Regions from separate parts of the Homo sapiens genome. Here region 2 is linked to region 1. Evidence: promoter capture Hi-C in 16 types of primary human blood cells and fetal thymus (Javierre and others, 2016). All regions are on one chromosome and are shown on one strand. The core of a region is centred on a gene start or on the middle of the fragment in contact, and the rest is flanking DNA. Distances in the headings are between cores, read along the strand shown. Region 1 holds the start of PLEKHG7 (pleckstrin homology and RhoGEF domain containing G7). Region 2 overlaps LOC105369896 (a long non-coding RNA gene).

Region 1 (7,161 bases), core at 1,120-3,619:
AACTTGATATAGAGAAGGCTGAAAACCAATAAACCTTTTCCTTATAACCTGACCTCATTCTGTTGACTATCATTCTAGTACTTTGCCAAAATACAGTGATTACTACTATGTTTACTATAGTTCTGTGGAGAATACAATAATTGTTACAGGCTTCTATAGCATCTGAATATTCACTCCCACACCAAATGGCCCCACACCAATGTACTCCCTAATTTTTATTCCTTACTTCTCACTATGCTTTTTGTACTTGCCTATGGCAACCACTCTCTCCTCTTTGTTTCTTTTAATCTGTGTCAGTCATAGAAGTCCAACAACCTTGTGAATAGATAATTAATAGGTTGTTAGATCTATTCCTATCAGTAGAGGAGGAGCTCAATGTTATGACATTGTCATGACAATGTTGTGACTTGACATTGATTTTGGGGACTTTGTGGTCTCTTATTTTACTCCCTGACTCTTACCTTGTTTAAGGTCAAGTAAGTCCAGGCACAGAGGCTCATGCCTGTAATCCGAGCACTTTGGGAGGCAAAGGCGGGAGGATCCCTTGAGCCTAGAAGTTCAAGACCAGCCTGGGCAACATAGTGAGACCCCATCTCTATAAAAACCTTTTTAAAATGCCAAATGAAACTAACAGGTACTGGATTTCAGACTGGTGAGTTGTTTGAGGAACAACTTAGATGCAAACTAACGTCAATTCAACTCTTATTCACAAAAGAAATCTAAAATTCTTAATGTTGTGTTTGCTTTATTTTGAGCTGAGGACTCAATTGTTATAGAACTTCACATGTAGAACTAAAACCCATGAGGTACCCTTTTTTGCAGAGTGGAGGAAAGAGGGCAATGCCAGTTTAGGAAACTTATGTTCAGTTAAGGTGAGATTGTACTAGTTTTGGTTTTAGATTGGTAATTCCTGGAGGCTGCTCTGAAGGTTGATACCAACATTGCTGGAGAGGTATGAAATGGTCCCTCCCTACCATTGATAAAATAAGGTACATTGTTGCTACATGGAGAGGCCAGTTCCTCATTCTCCCAACAAACAAATGCTGAGCTGAGCATCAAATCTATAGGTACTTTCTTTCTTTTTTTTTTTCTTTTTAGAGATGGAGTCTGGCTCTGTCGCCCAGGCTGAGTGCAGAGGTGTGATCATATCGCACTGTAACCTCAAACTCCTAGCCTCACAGAATCCTCATGCTGCAGTGCTCCTGAGTAGTTGGGGCTATGGATGCTTACCACCCCACCCAGCTAATTTTGAATCAATAGGTACTTTCACACATACATACAATCAGGGCCGTTCTATTATTTTTCTCCTTTAGAAGACTGTCCAAGTTCTAGGCAGCAACAATGTTAAAGGAATTCAGTATATTTGCATAGGCACTTGCATAATAGTTAGATCAGATTTCTTAGTCTTTGGGTTTCCCCTCTGTCCTTCTGGCCTTTTCCTCTCCTCTTTTGAGGGGTTAGGATACGGCTTTGGGTTTCCTTTGTAGTCGTTCAGACACAGGGGTGTAGCTGCTGGTAGGAAGTTATTTATGGCCAATAGGATTCACATCGGTAAGAATTATTTATTAGCCACTGTCTTAAATATTGGAACCAAGGCAATAGTAACTGCCGACATGATGCACTGCGGAAATGGAGAAACTTTAAAAACAGCAGGGCTTAGGGAGGTGGTTTGCAGAAAGGCAGGAAGAGCTCAAGCACCAGAAGAAATGGGTCTGGTTTCTCTTCCAGTATCACCGCCAATTGGCTGTGTGACCTAGGACAAGCCACTTCTCCTCTGCCAACTGCCATGCAGCATTTACCAAGAGGACATCAAAGAACCTCCCTCACAGGCCTGTTGCAGAAATTAAATGAGATAATGGCTAAGGCTCCTGGGAAGCTTTCCCTAAATGACTACACCCAGTGGATCTGGTAGAATCAAAAGTTAACAAGTCAATCCATTCATGCTAACTCTTCTTTATGTTTAAAAGAGGAAATTAATACATGGTCACCATAAAGAAAATTCACCAACCTTTGACCTTCCAAGCTTTGAGAATCCAGCAAACACCCACCCACACTGTTGGGGAAGCCATCTCACTGTACTAGAAATGAAACCATTGCAGGTTAATGATTCACTAATTCTAATGAGACCTGGAGAGATCAGCAAAACAAGCGAAACTGATAGCAATAGGACAAAAGGAAAGTGCAAGAGAGAAACCCAGAAAGCAGCTGAATGTTGCCTTTAATACCTGTAAGATGGTCTGTCCCTGAAGGCAACTGCACCCAGGTGGGTCCCGAGGCTCCTCAGAACCCGCAGATCCAGAGTGAGCTGCCAGGCGAGGGCTCGGAGCAACAAGTTCCACACCTGTAACAATGCGTCCTCCTGGCTGAGTGAAAGCAACCTTGCTACCAGCTGCAATGAGGAACTGGTCTCTCCCCTCCTTAGAGACATTTCCAGTTATTTGTTTATGAAAAAGCCTAAAGGGAAGCCAGCTCAGAATCTAAGGCAGCCTAAGAACAAGTCAGGTAAACAACGGCTGATCAAATACAGAAATGATGCAAATGTAACTTTTTACTTCCTCTTGAGGCATTCAACAAATCATCACTCATAGTTCAGTGAAGCAGTTCTAGGTTTCTATTTCATTTATTTTCTCTAAGGTTGTGAGATGCATTCTTTGGGACTCTACTTTCTTCACATCATAAAACATTTTGTGTTGATCTATTTTATTAATGACTTGCTTTGATAAGCATTGAATAGTAGAGGAAATGATTAGAGCACCAGGGAGTGAATTTGTGAACATTAGTTTTCAAATAATTAAAATGCAAATGGAAGAGCATTTATATCTACCAGTATTCTCATTAGATCAGTACCCCAAAGAATATTTATTTGATGCCTAGGTGGAGATAATGCATATGTATGCAGCATTAAACAAAAATGTCTATAGACTTTCCCAAAACAAAGTTGAAGTAATTCTAATGAAGTCTAATTCACTGAAGTTTTCATTGATTGGACTCATTACAGATACTTACTGTGAAGGTTCCCTGAGGTCGGTAGTTCTTAAAGTAGGGTCCCTGGACCAGCAGTATCACTATGACTTGAGAACTTGTTAGAAAGGAAAAATCTTCCCCCTCCATGCTCTCCAACCCCTGGAACTCTGGGATGGGGTCAGAAGTCCGTGGTTTTTTTTTGAGACAGGGTCTCACTCTGTCACTCAGGCTGGAGTGCAGTGGCACGATCTCAGCTCACTGCAACCTCCACCTCCTGGGTTCAAGCGATTCTCCTACCTCAGCTTCCTGTGTAGCTGAGATTACAGGTGCACACCACCAGGGCCCGGCTAACTTTTGTATTTTTAGTACAGACGGGGTTTCACCATATTGGCCAGGCTGTCCGAACTCCTGACCTCAGGTGGTCCACCCACTTCGGCCTCCCAAAGTGCTGGGATTACAGGTGTGAGCCACTGTGCCCAGCCAGAAGTCTGTGTTTAACAAGACTTCCAGGTGATTCTTACATGGGTTAAAATTTGAGAACCACTGCCCTTAGAGGAAAAGAAAAAAAGGTCTAACTTATAGATGTTGGCCTTGTGATAAACTTTATATTAGTCTTTAATTCTCTCATATTGATCTTACTAGAACATCATTTACTTAGAACTTTGAAAAATGACTTGATCTCCTGCCCTCACCACCATTGCCAACATTACCATGACTCAACCAAAAGCAGGATATCAAAAAATATTTTGCCTGCATGGAGCCTGCATAAACAGTTCTGAGCTCCTGCCAAGGATGTCTAGAAGTGAATTGCTTCAATTTGGGAAGGAAAAAAATGAATAAAGTCTTTTAGCTTTTAGTTTGTGGAAGGAAGGTCATACTCTTTTCTACCAATCCCCTCACGCACATGGGATTGTAAAGCTGTCTCTCCTAGGGGATAATGATAATGGAATACTTGATCCCAATGCAAAAACTTCCAACCTCTGGTTGTAACTTCAAGAAGGAAATTAAGAGTCTTATAGAAAGGTCACAAAAGATTATCACGGAAAAAAATGTGCCACCTCCATCTGATTTGTCAAGGAGATGGCAACAGGGAGGCATTTTGGGTGGGGAAGGGACACCCCAGAGTCAGCTTTTCCTTTAAGAACCTGGGGCAACCTCACTGTGGCCCTTTCTCAGATGACACATGGAGGTGCTCTCCAATATCGCAGAGGGAGCAGCTCGCCTCAGCATTTTTTGCCTGTGTGTAGTTTTACGTTTATGTATGCTTTGCTTCAATAAAAAGTATACCTTAAAAAGTATGTCTATGCTAAAAGATGACATCCTGGTTTGCTTACTTTATGGCTTTGAATTGGCAAATTCCTAAAAGATATTTTCTTTCTAGTTGTTGAAAAGAGGTATGAGATTTATTTGAGCTTCCTTTTAGGTTTTAGGGCTACAAAAATTCAGTTGTACCATATTTACAATGATTAATATAGCTGGGCACAGTGGCTGATGCCTGTAATCCCAGCACTTTGGAAGGCCAAGGTGGGCAGACTGATTGAGCCCAGGAGTTTGGGACCAGCCTGGGCAACATGCTGAAACCCCGTCTCCACAAAAAATACAAAAATTAGTTGGGTGTGGTGTTGGGCACCTGTAGTCCCAGCTACTTGGGAGGCTGAAGTGGGAGGAATGCTTGGGCTGAGGTTGCAGTGAGCCGTGATCATGCCACTGTACTGCAGTCTGGGTGACAGAGAAAGATCCTGTCTCTCAAAAACAAACCAAAACAAAAAAAGGTGACTATCAGATTAATATCAATGCATCTTGATATCTTTCAATATTTCTGAGGTATTTATTTAGGAAAAGTTTCTAGGTAGTACATATTCTGAGCTGTTTCATACCCCAAAATGACTTTATTTTGCTATCACATGTGCAGGGCATGGAATTCTTGCAACATGGTATTTTCCTTTAAAGGTCTGTAGACATTTTTGCATGATTTCAGTCATTAATAGTTGAAATAGGAGGTCAATAGAATATTTACTCTTTGCTGGGTACCATACTCTTAAATTTTTTTTTACTTCTTTGTGAGATTGTGTATGTTCTATTGAAGTGTGAAATATATATATACACACACAATACAATAGAACATTATATATATATAATTTTATTGGGATTAGGTCTTGCTATATCAAGCTGATCTCAAACTCCTGGGCTCAAGTGGTCCTCTTGCCTTAGCCTCCCCAGTAGCTGGGACTACAGGGAATGCTGCTAATTTTTTATTTTGAATTTTTTTAAAAGATAGGGTTGGCCGGGCATGGTGGCTCACGCCTGTAATCCCAGCACTTTGGGAGGCAGAGGCGGGCAGATCACGAGGTCAGGAGATCGAGACCATCCTGGCTAACACGGTGAAACCCCGTCTCTACTAAAAATACAAAAAATTAGCCGGGCGAGGTGGCGGGTGCCTGTAGTCCTGGCTACTCGGGAGGCTGAGGCAGGAGAATGGCCTGAACCCCAGGGGATGGAGCCTGCAGTGAGCTGAGATCACGCCACTGCACTCCAGCCTGGGCGACCGAGTGAGACTCTATCTCAAAAAAAAAAAAAAAAAAAGAGATACGTTCTTGGTATGTTGTCCAGGCTTAAGTTTTTTCTTTTATATTTGAAGGTAGAGAGGTTTACCTAGCATATGTCATGGTGGGTTCTGTTTACCAAATATCTGGTGTGTACTCTCTGTTATTTAAAATATTTTTTCTAAATAAGAAATATTTTCTGTGCTATTTGACATTTATCTCTCTTCCACTGATTCTTTTCCTTCAGTCCCCATTCTTCTTTGTCTTCACTTCACTCTTCACTTTCCTCATTCTCTTTCTTCACTCTTCAGAGTGAAGTTATCGCTTCACTCTGATATTTTATCTTTTCTCTACATTATTGCTATTGCTTTTACCTTAGGGATAATTTCTTGATACTGTTTTCTATTTGGCTATTTTGCTTGTTCCATTTTCTGCATAGTCCAAATTGCCTTTAACTGTTTCCATAATGACTTTAACATCAATTTTCCTTTCAAGATAAATAGGAGTATTTCAGCTCAATTCTTTTTTAGATGGACTTTTGCTCTTGTTGCCCAGGCTGGAGTGCAGTGGTGCCATCTTGGCTCACTGCAACCTCCACCTCCTGGGTTCAAGTGATTCTCCTGCCTCGGCCTCCCAAATAGCTGGGATTACAGGCATGTGCCACCATACCCGGCTGATTTTGTATTTTTAGTAGAGACGGGATTTCACCATGTTGGTCAGGCTGGTCTTGAATTCCTGACCTCAGGTAATCCATCCATCTCAGCCTCCCAAAGTGCTGGGATTACAGGTGTGAGCCACCGCTCCTGGCTTTGCAATTCTTTTTTATTACAAAATGTTTTCATGGTGGCAGACTGTAGGTTCTTGATTCATGTCAAAAATATGGATTATTTAGTGTGTCATGAACTGAGGGTTATGATTAACTCAACTATATGTGGTCTAAAAATTAAAGTCAAAGAATCATGAATTATAATTTCTAATTTTTTCTGTTTTTTGAAATAACTCTGTTTCAAAAAAAGTAGTTCTACTGAGCCATCCTAGAATTTTTTTGCTTTATTCTTATGACCTGTAAGCTCTTTTACTATGCTCAGTAGTTATTCCATTTGCCATTCCTTAGAGAAGGGTATCTTTGCTTGGCCAGTGTTGATTTGGGGTTGACAAAGGATTTCACTAGGTTCTGATTGCTTGCTCAGCAATTTTGCAGTTTAAGGGGCAGGGACCTAGAGTGACAGCTGCAGCCACAATCAGAGCATAAGCTGGGTGCCATCACACTCATTCAGGAATGAAGGGCTCCCCAGCATGGCCAGTCCTCTGCTTGCTTTCAGACTTATGACCAGGAGCCACATCTGAGGCCTTCCCTCAGATGTGCATTCCTAGAGCTCAAGTGAAAGGACCCAATGGGCCGGGCTTCCCATGAGTTCCCTATGCTTTCCTGCCTTTTGAGTCTTGGAACAGTGCCAACTCACCTCTTGGAATTGGAGTTTTAGTAGACATTTGTTAGCAGCCTCCCTGCACCCGTGATCCACTCTCCTTTCCAGAGTCGTGATTTCCATTTAGGTTCCATGTGTTTCTCCATGCTTATTTCATTCCCAGCTTGAGGGGTGGAACACTGGACCTTGGCTCAGTCAAATTTGCATTTCAACCCCCAGGCTGCAAG
Region 2 (6,557 bases), core at 300-2,799, 1.2 Mb after region 1:
CAGTACTTAATTGCAAAGCCAGATGAAGTCAACTACATGGCCCTACTAAATCTATGAACTTTACCTTTTACAATTAGAAACTACATATAGAATCTCTCTCTCTCTATATATATGTGTGTGTGTATATATATATATAATACTTACAGTACATATTTTTTAAATTACAAAAATCATACCTTCTATTACAGTAGGTAGCTAGTCAGGCATGAGCAGGGACAGAAGAGTGTCTGCCACCACCAGAAATGTCAGACGACCATCAGGTGATGGTCAGGCAATTGTTACACTGTCTTTCTGAAATAATAACTGTTCACAGCCAGCACCAGGGATAGTCAGTCTCCCTATAGATAAAAAAAAAACCTGAAACTGGTGATCGGCAACTTCCCAATAAGATCTTAGGAGTTGAGCAAGTGGTCTCACACATGCGCACTAAGAGGCAAAATGGTGGAGTTTAACTGCTAAATGACCTCCCAGGGACACTCAGCTGGTAAGGGAAGAACACCTCAGGGGAGCATGCGTACAATGCCAGTAAACACTGCGCATGCTCCCCTCACAAGGCCTAGCCCGCTACTGTTCATGCAGCCCAGCCCAAGAAAGAAGCCAGGAAGAGGGAACACAAGATCCCAGAAGTACGCCAACATATAAAACCCCAAGTCAAAAAGTCAAACCGCGCACTTGTCTTTCAAGTCGACCACTTGGCCCTCTTCCAAGTGTGCTTTGCTTCCTTTTGTTCCTGCTCTAAAGTTTTTTTAATAAAGTTTCACTTCTCTAATCCTTCCCTTGGTCTCTCCTTCTGCCTTACGCCCCTCAGTCAAATTATTTCTTCTAAGGAGACACAAATTGAGGTTGTTGCAGACTTGTATGGATTCACCACCACTAACATATTTTGGTGCCGTGTGACTCAAATAACTCCCATCGCTAACACTTCCAGTTGTAAGAAGTCAAACAGTAGAATAGTAAATGAAGTAAATGGTGTAGGATAAAAAGTGAAATTCTCATCTTCTTTTCTCTCCTTTCCAAATTCCACCCAGAGTTGACTACAGTTACGTGGTTAGTGTGATTATTGCTGGTTTTTTATATTCTACTATTGCAAATAAGTGGAGTTGCAATTTTTTAAGCAAATAAGATCATGCCATGCATTATTTTCTGTATCTTACTTTTACTCCTCAACACATTCTTGAAAAACTTCCCATGTCAATAACAATAGGTAGACCTTTTCTCTTAAATGACTGCAAATTATTTGTTTATTATTGTAAAGTATGTAATTGTACAGGCACAAGATAACTTTAAAAATATTTGTTCTTTTGATAAATTATTACCTTGTATCTCTTCATAAGTTTCAAACAGTGATGCAATAATCCTCCTTTAATATCTAGTTGAAAATACCGTTAAGTCAAAAATGCATTTAATATCCCTAATCTACTGAACATCACCCAGCCTACTTTAAACATGCTCAGAACACTTATCTTAGCCTACAGTTGGGCAAAATCATCTAGCACAAAGACTATTTTAAAATAAAGTGCTGAATATCTCATGTAATTTACTTTACTTTTTTTTTTATATTTTATTTTAAGTTCAGGGGTACATGTACAGGGTCATTACCTAGGTAAACTTATGTCATGGGGGTTTGTTGTACAGATTATTTCATCACCCAGGTCTTAAGCCTAGCAGTACCCATCAGTTATTTTTCCTAATCCTTTCCCTCCTCCCAACCTCCACCCTCTGATAGCCCTTAGTGTGTGTTGTTCCCCTCTGTGTGTCCGTGTATTCTTATCACTTAGCTCCCACTTATAAGTGAGAACATGTGGTATTTGGTACTCTGTTTCTGTGTTAGCTGCTAAGGATAATGGCCTCCAGCTCCATCCATGTCCCTGCAAAAGACATGATGTCATTCTTTTGTATGGTGGCACAGTATTCCATGGTGTATATGCACCACATATTCTTTATCCAGTCTATCATTGATGGACATTTAGGTTGATTCCATGTCTTTACTATCGTGAATAATGTTGCAGTGAACATACATGTACATTTGACTTTATAATAGAACAATTGACATACCTTTGGGTATATACCCAGTAATGAGATTGCTGGCTCGAATGGTATTTTTGTCTTTAGGTCTTTGAGGAATCATCACACTGTCTTCCACAAAGGTTAAATTAATTTACACTCCCAACAACAGTATATAAGCATTTCTTTTTCTCCACAACCTCACCAGCATCTGTTATTTTCTTACTTTTTAATAATAGCCATTCTGACTGGTGTGAGATGGTATCTCACTATGGTTTTGATTTTCATTTTTCTAATGATCAATGATGAGCTTTTTTTCATATGATTGTTGGCCGTCTTCTTTTGGGAAGTGTCTGATCATGTCCTTTGCCCACATTTTTATGGGGTTGTTTTTTCTTATAAATTTGTTTAGGTTTCTTATAAATGCTAGATAGTAGACCTTTGTAGGATGCCTAGTTTGCAAGTATTTTCTCCTATTCTGTAGGCCGTCTGTTTACTCTGTTGATAGTTTGTTTCACTGTGTGGAAGCTCTTTAGTTTAATTAGATTTAGATATGTTAGATTTTAGATTTGTAAAAATTTGCCAATTTTTGCTTTTCTTGCAATTGTATTTGGTGTCTTAATAGCGAAATATTTGCCCTGTGGCTGTGTTCTGAATAGTACTGTCTAGATTGTTCTCCAGGGTTTTTATAGGTTTGGGTTTTACATTTGAATCTTTACTCTGCTTGAGTTAATTTTTGTATGTGATGTAAGGAAGGGGTCCAGTTTTAGTCTCCTGCATATGGCTAGCCAGTTATCCCAGTACCATTTATTGAGTAGGGAATTCTTTGCCCATAGCTTGTTTTTGTCAGGTTTGTCAAAGATCAGTTAGGTGTAGGTGTGCAGTTTTATTTCTGGGTTCTCTATTTTATTCCATTGGTCTATGTATCTGTTTTGGTACCTGTATCATGCTGTTTTTGTTACTGTAGCCTTGTAATATAATTTGAAGTTAGGTAGCATGATGCCCCCAGCTTTGTTCTTTTTGCTTATGATTGTACTAGCTGTTCAGGCTCTTTTGTTGATTTCATGTGAATTTTAAAATAGTTATTTCTAGTTCTTTGAGTAATGTCAATGGTAGTATAATATGAATAGCTTTGAATCTATAAATTCCTTTGGGCAGTATGGCCATTTTAATGATATCGATTCTCCTATCCATGAGCATGGAATGCTTTCTCATTTGTTTGTGTCATCTCTGATTTCTTTGAGCAGTATTTTGTAGTTCTCCTTGTAGAGATCTTTCATCTCCCTAGTTAGCTGGATTCCTAGGTATTTTGGTCTTTTTGTGGCAAATTATGAATGGAAGCTCATTCATGATTTGGCTCTCAGATTGACTGTTATTGGTGTATAGCAATGCTAGTGATTTTTTGACATTGATTTTGTATCCTGAGACTTTGATGAAATTGTTCATCAGCTTAAGAAGCTTTTGGGCTGACACTATGGGATTTTCTAAATATAGGGTCATGTAGTATGCAAACAGGATGAGTTTGACTCCCTCTCTTCCTATTTGGATGCCCTTTGTTTCTTTCTCTTGCCTGGTTGCCCTAGCCAGACTTCCAATACTATTTTGAATAGGAGTGGTGAGAGAGGGCAACCTTGTCTTGTGCTGGTTTTCAAGGGGAATGCTTCTAGCTTTTGCCCATTCAGTATGATATTGGCTCTGGGTTTGTCATATATGGCTCTCATTATTTTGAGATATGTTCCTTAAATACCTAGTTTGTTGAGTTTTTAATGTGAATGGATGTTGAATTTTATTGAAAGCCTTTTCTGCATCTATTGAGATAATTGTGTGGCTTTCATCTTTTTTGTTTATGTGATGAATCACATTTATTGATTTGCATATGTTGATCCAATCTTGCCTCCCAGGGATAAAGCCTACTTTGTCATTGTGGATAAGCTTTTTGATGTGCTGCTCCATTCAGTTTGCCAGTATTTTGTAGAGGATTTTTGCATCAATGTTCATCAAGGATATTGGCCTGAAGTTTTCTTTTTTTGTTGTAGCTCTGCAAGATTTTGGTACCTGGATGATGCTGGCCTCATAGAATAAATTAGGGAGGAGTCCCTACTTCTCAGTTTTTTGGAATAGTTTTAGTAGGAGTGGTACCAGCTCTTCTTTGTACATCTGATAGAATTCAGCTGTGAATCCATCTGGTCCTGGGCTTTTTTTGGTTGGTAGGCTATTAATTACTGCCTCAATTTCAGAGCTGATTATTGTTCTCCTCAGGGATTCAATTTTTTTTTTCTGGTTCAGTCTTGGGAGAGCGTATGTGTCCAGTAGTGAATTCATTTTCTCTAGATTTTCTAGTTTATGTGCATAGAGGTATTCATAATGTTCTCTGATGGTTCTTTGCAGTTCTGTGGGGTCAGTGGTAGTACTACTCCCTTGTTGTTTCTGATTGTGTTAACTTGAATCTTCTCTCTTTTCTTCATTAGTCTAGCCAGAAACGTATCTATTAATTTTTTCAAAAAAATGCCTCCTGAATTCATTGATCTTTTGAATGATTTTTTGTGCCTCAATCTCCTTCAGTTCAACTCTGATTTTTGTTATTTCTTGTCTCCTGCTAGCTTTAGGATTTGTTTACTCTTGGTTCTTTAGGTTTTTTTAGTTGTTATGTTAGTTTGTTAACTTGAGATCTTTCTAGCTTTTTGATGTGGGCATTTAGTGCTATATATTTCCCTCTTAACACTGCCTTAGCTGTGTTCCAGAGATTCTGGTGTGTTGTATCCTTGTTTTCATTAGTTTCAAAGAACTGCTTAATTTCTGCCTTAATTTTATGATTCACCCAAAAGTCGTTCAGGAGCAGAATATTCAAGCTCCATATAATTGTATGATTTTAAGTGAATCCCTTAGTCTTGATTTCTAGTCTGATTGTGTTGTGGTTTAAGAGGTTGTTTGTTACTATTTCAGTTCTTTTGCATTTGCTGAAGAATGTCTTACCTCTGATTTTGTGATCGAGTTTAGAGTGCATGCAATGTGGCAATGAGAAGAATAGATATTCTTTTGTTTTTAGGTCAAGAGTTCTTTAGATACATATCAGGTCCATGTGGTCCAGAGATGAGTTCAGGTCCTGAATATCTTTGTTAATTTTCTGTCTTGATAATATGTCTAATATCGTCAGTGGGATGTTAAAGTTTTTCACTATTATTGTGTGGGAGACTAAGTCTCTTTGAAAATCTCTAAGAACTTTATGAATCTGGTTGCTCCTGTGTTGGGTGTACATATATTTAAAATAGTTAGTTTTTTTGTTGATTTGAACCTTTTACCATTGTGTAATGCCCTTCTTTTCTTTTTTGATTATTGGTGGTTTAAAGTCTATTTTGTCAGAAACTAGGATTGCAACCCCTACTTTTTTCTGTTTTCCATTTGCTTAGATTTTTCTCCATCCTTTATTTTGAGTGTATATGTGCCACTGCATGTGAGATAAGTCTCTTGAAGACAGTATACTAATGGATCTTGGTTTTTTATCCATCTTGCCACTCTGTATTTTAATTGGGGCCTTTGCTCATTTAAGATTCATATTGATATGTGTGGATTTTATCCTGCATTCATGATGCTAACTGGTTATTTTGAAGACTTGCTTATGTGGTTGCTTTATTGTGTCATTGGTCCATGTACTTCATTATGTTTTTGTAGTGGCTGGTAATGAACTTTTCATACTAAATATGGAAAAACTTTCCATATTTAGTGCTTCCTTCAGGAGCTCTTGTAAGAAAGGTTTGGTAGTAACAAATTACCTCAGCATTTGCTTGTCTGGAAAAGGATCTTATTTCTTAGTTTGGCTGGATATAAAATTCTGGGTTGGAATTTCCTTTCTTTAAGAATGTTGAATATTGGCCCCCAATCTCTTCTGACTTATAGGGTTTCTGCTGAAACTTACAGAAGTCTGCTGTTAGTCTGATGGGCTTCCCTTTGTAGGTGACCTGGCCTTTCTCTCTAGCTGCCTTTAATATTTTTTCTTTCATTTTTGACGTTGGGGAACCTGACAATTATGTGTCTTGGGGATGATCTTCTAATGGAATATTTTACTAAGGTTCTCTGCATTTCCCAAAATTCAATGTTGGCCTCTAGCTATGTTGGGGAAGTTCTCATGCATAATATTCTGAAATATGTTTTCCAAGGTGGTTATATTCTCCCCATGCCTTTCCAGTACACCAGTGAGTCATTGATTCAGTCCCTTTACATAATGCCATATTTCCTGGAGGTTTTGTTCATTCCTTTTCTTCTTTATTCTTCTCTATACTTGGCTACTTGGTCTGTCACTCCTGCAATGTTTTATCATGATTTTTAGCTTCCTTGCATTGAGTTACAATGCACTCCTCCTGTAGCTCAGTGAACTTCATTTTTATCCATATTCTGAATTCCATTTCTGTCATTTCAGCCATCTCAGCCTGGTTTCCAACCCTTGTTGGAGAGGTTACGCGGTCATTTGGAGGAAAGAAGATATTCTGGCTTTTTGAGTTTTTAGCATTCTTGCACTGATTCTTTTTCTCATCTTTCTGGGCTTATCTACCTTCATT

The links. The method cuts DNA at HindIII sites, captures the fragments that hold promoters and counts their contacts. A CHiCAGO score of 5 or more calls a contact.
Region 2: a fragment that was not itself captured here is called in contact with the fragment with the promoter of PLEKHG7 in region 1 in 1 of 17 cell types (non-activated CD4 T cells); the score reaches 5.3 in non-activated CD4 T cells.

The regions. Positions count from the first base shown.
Region 1 is chr12:92,698,197-92,705,357 of GRCh38, reverse strand. It overlaps PLEKHG7 (pleckstrin homology and RhoGEF domain containing G7), which reads right to left and starts at 2,369. Exons shown (of 17, transcript NM_001377329.1): 1 at 2,226-2,369. RefSeq lists an enhancer at 2,169-2,228. The HindIII fragment of the contact is 11,169 bases long and covers 2,026-7,161 here.
Region 2 is chr12:91,546,224-91,552,780 of GRCh38, reverse strand. The region is part of intron 1 of LOC105369896 (a long non-coding RNA gene); the gene reads left to right. Among named protein-coding and RNA genes, the nearest start is that of LINC02823, 220 kb to the right of the region's middle. The HindIII fragment of the contact is 3,830 bases long and covers 1-3,464 here.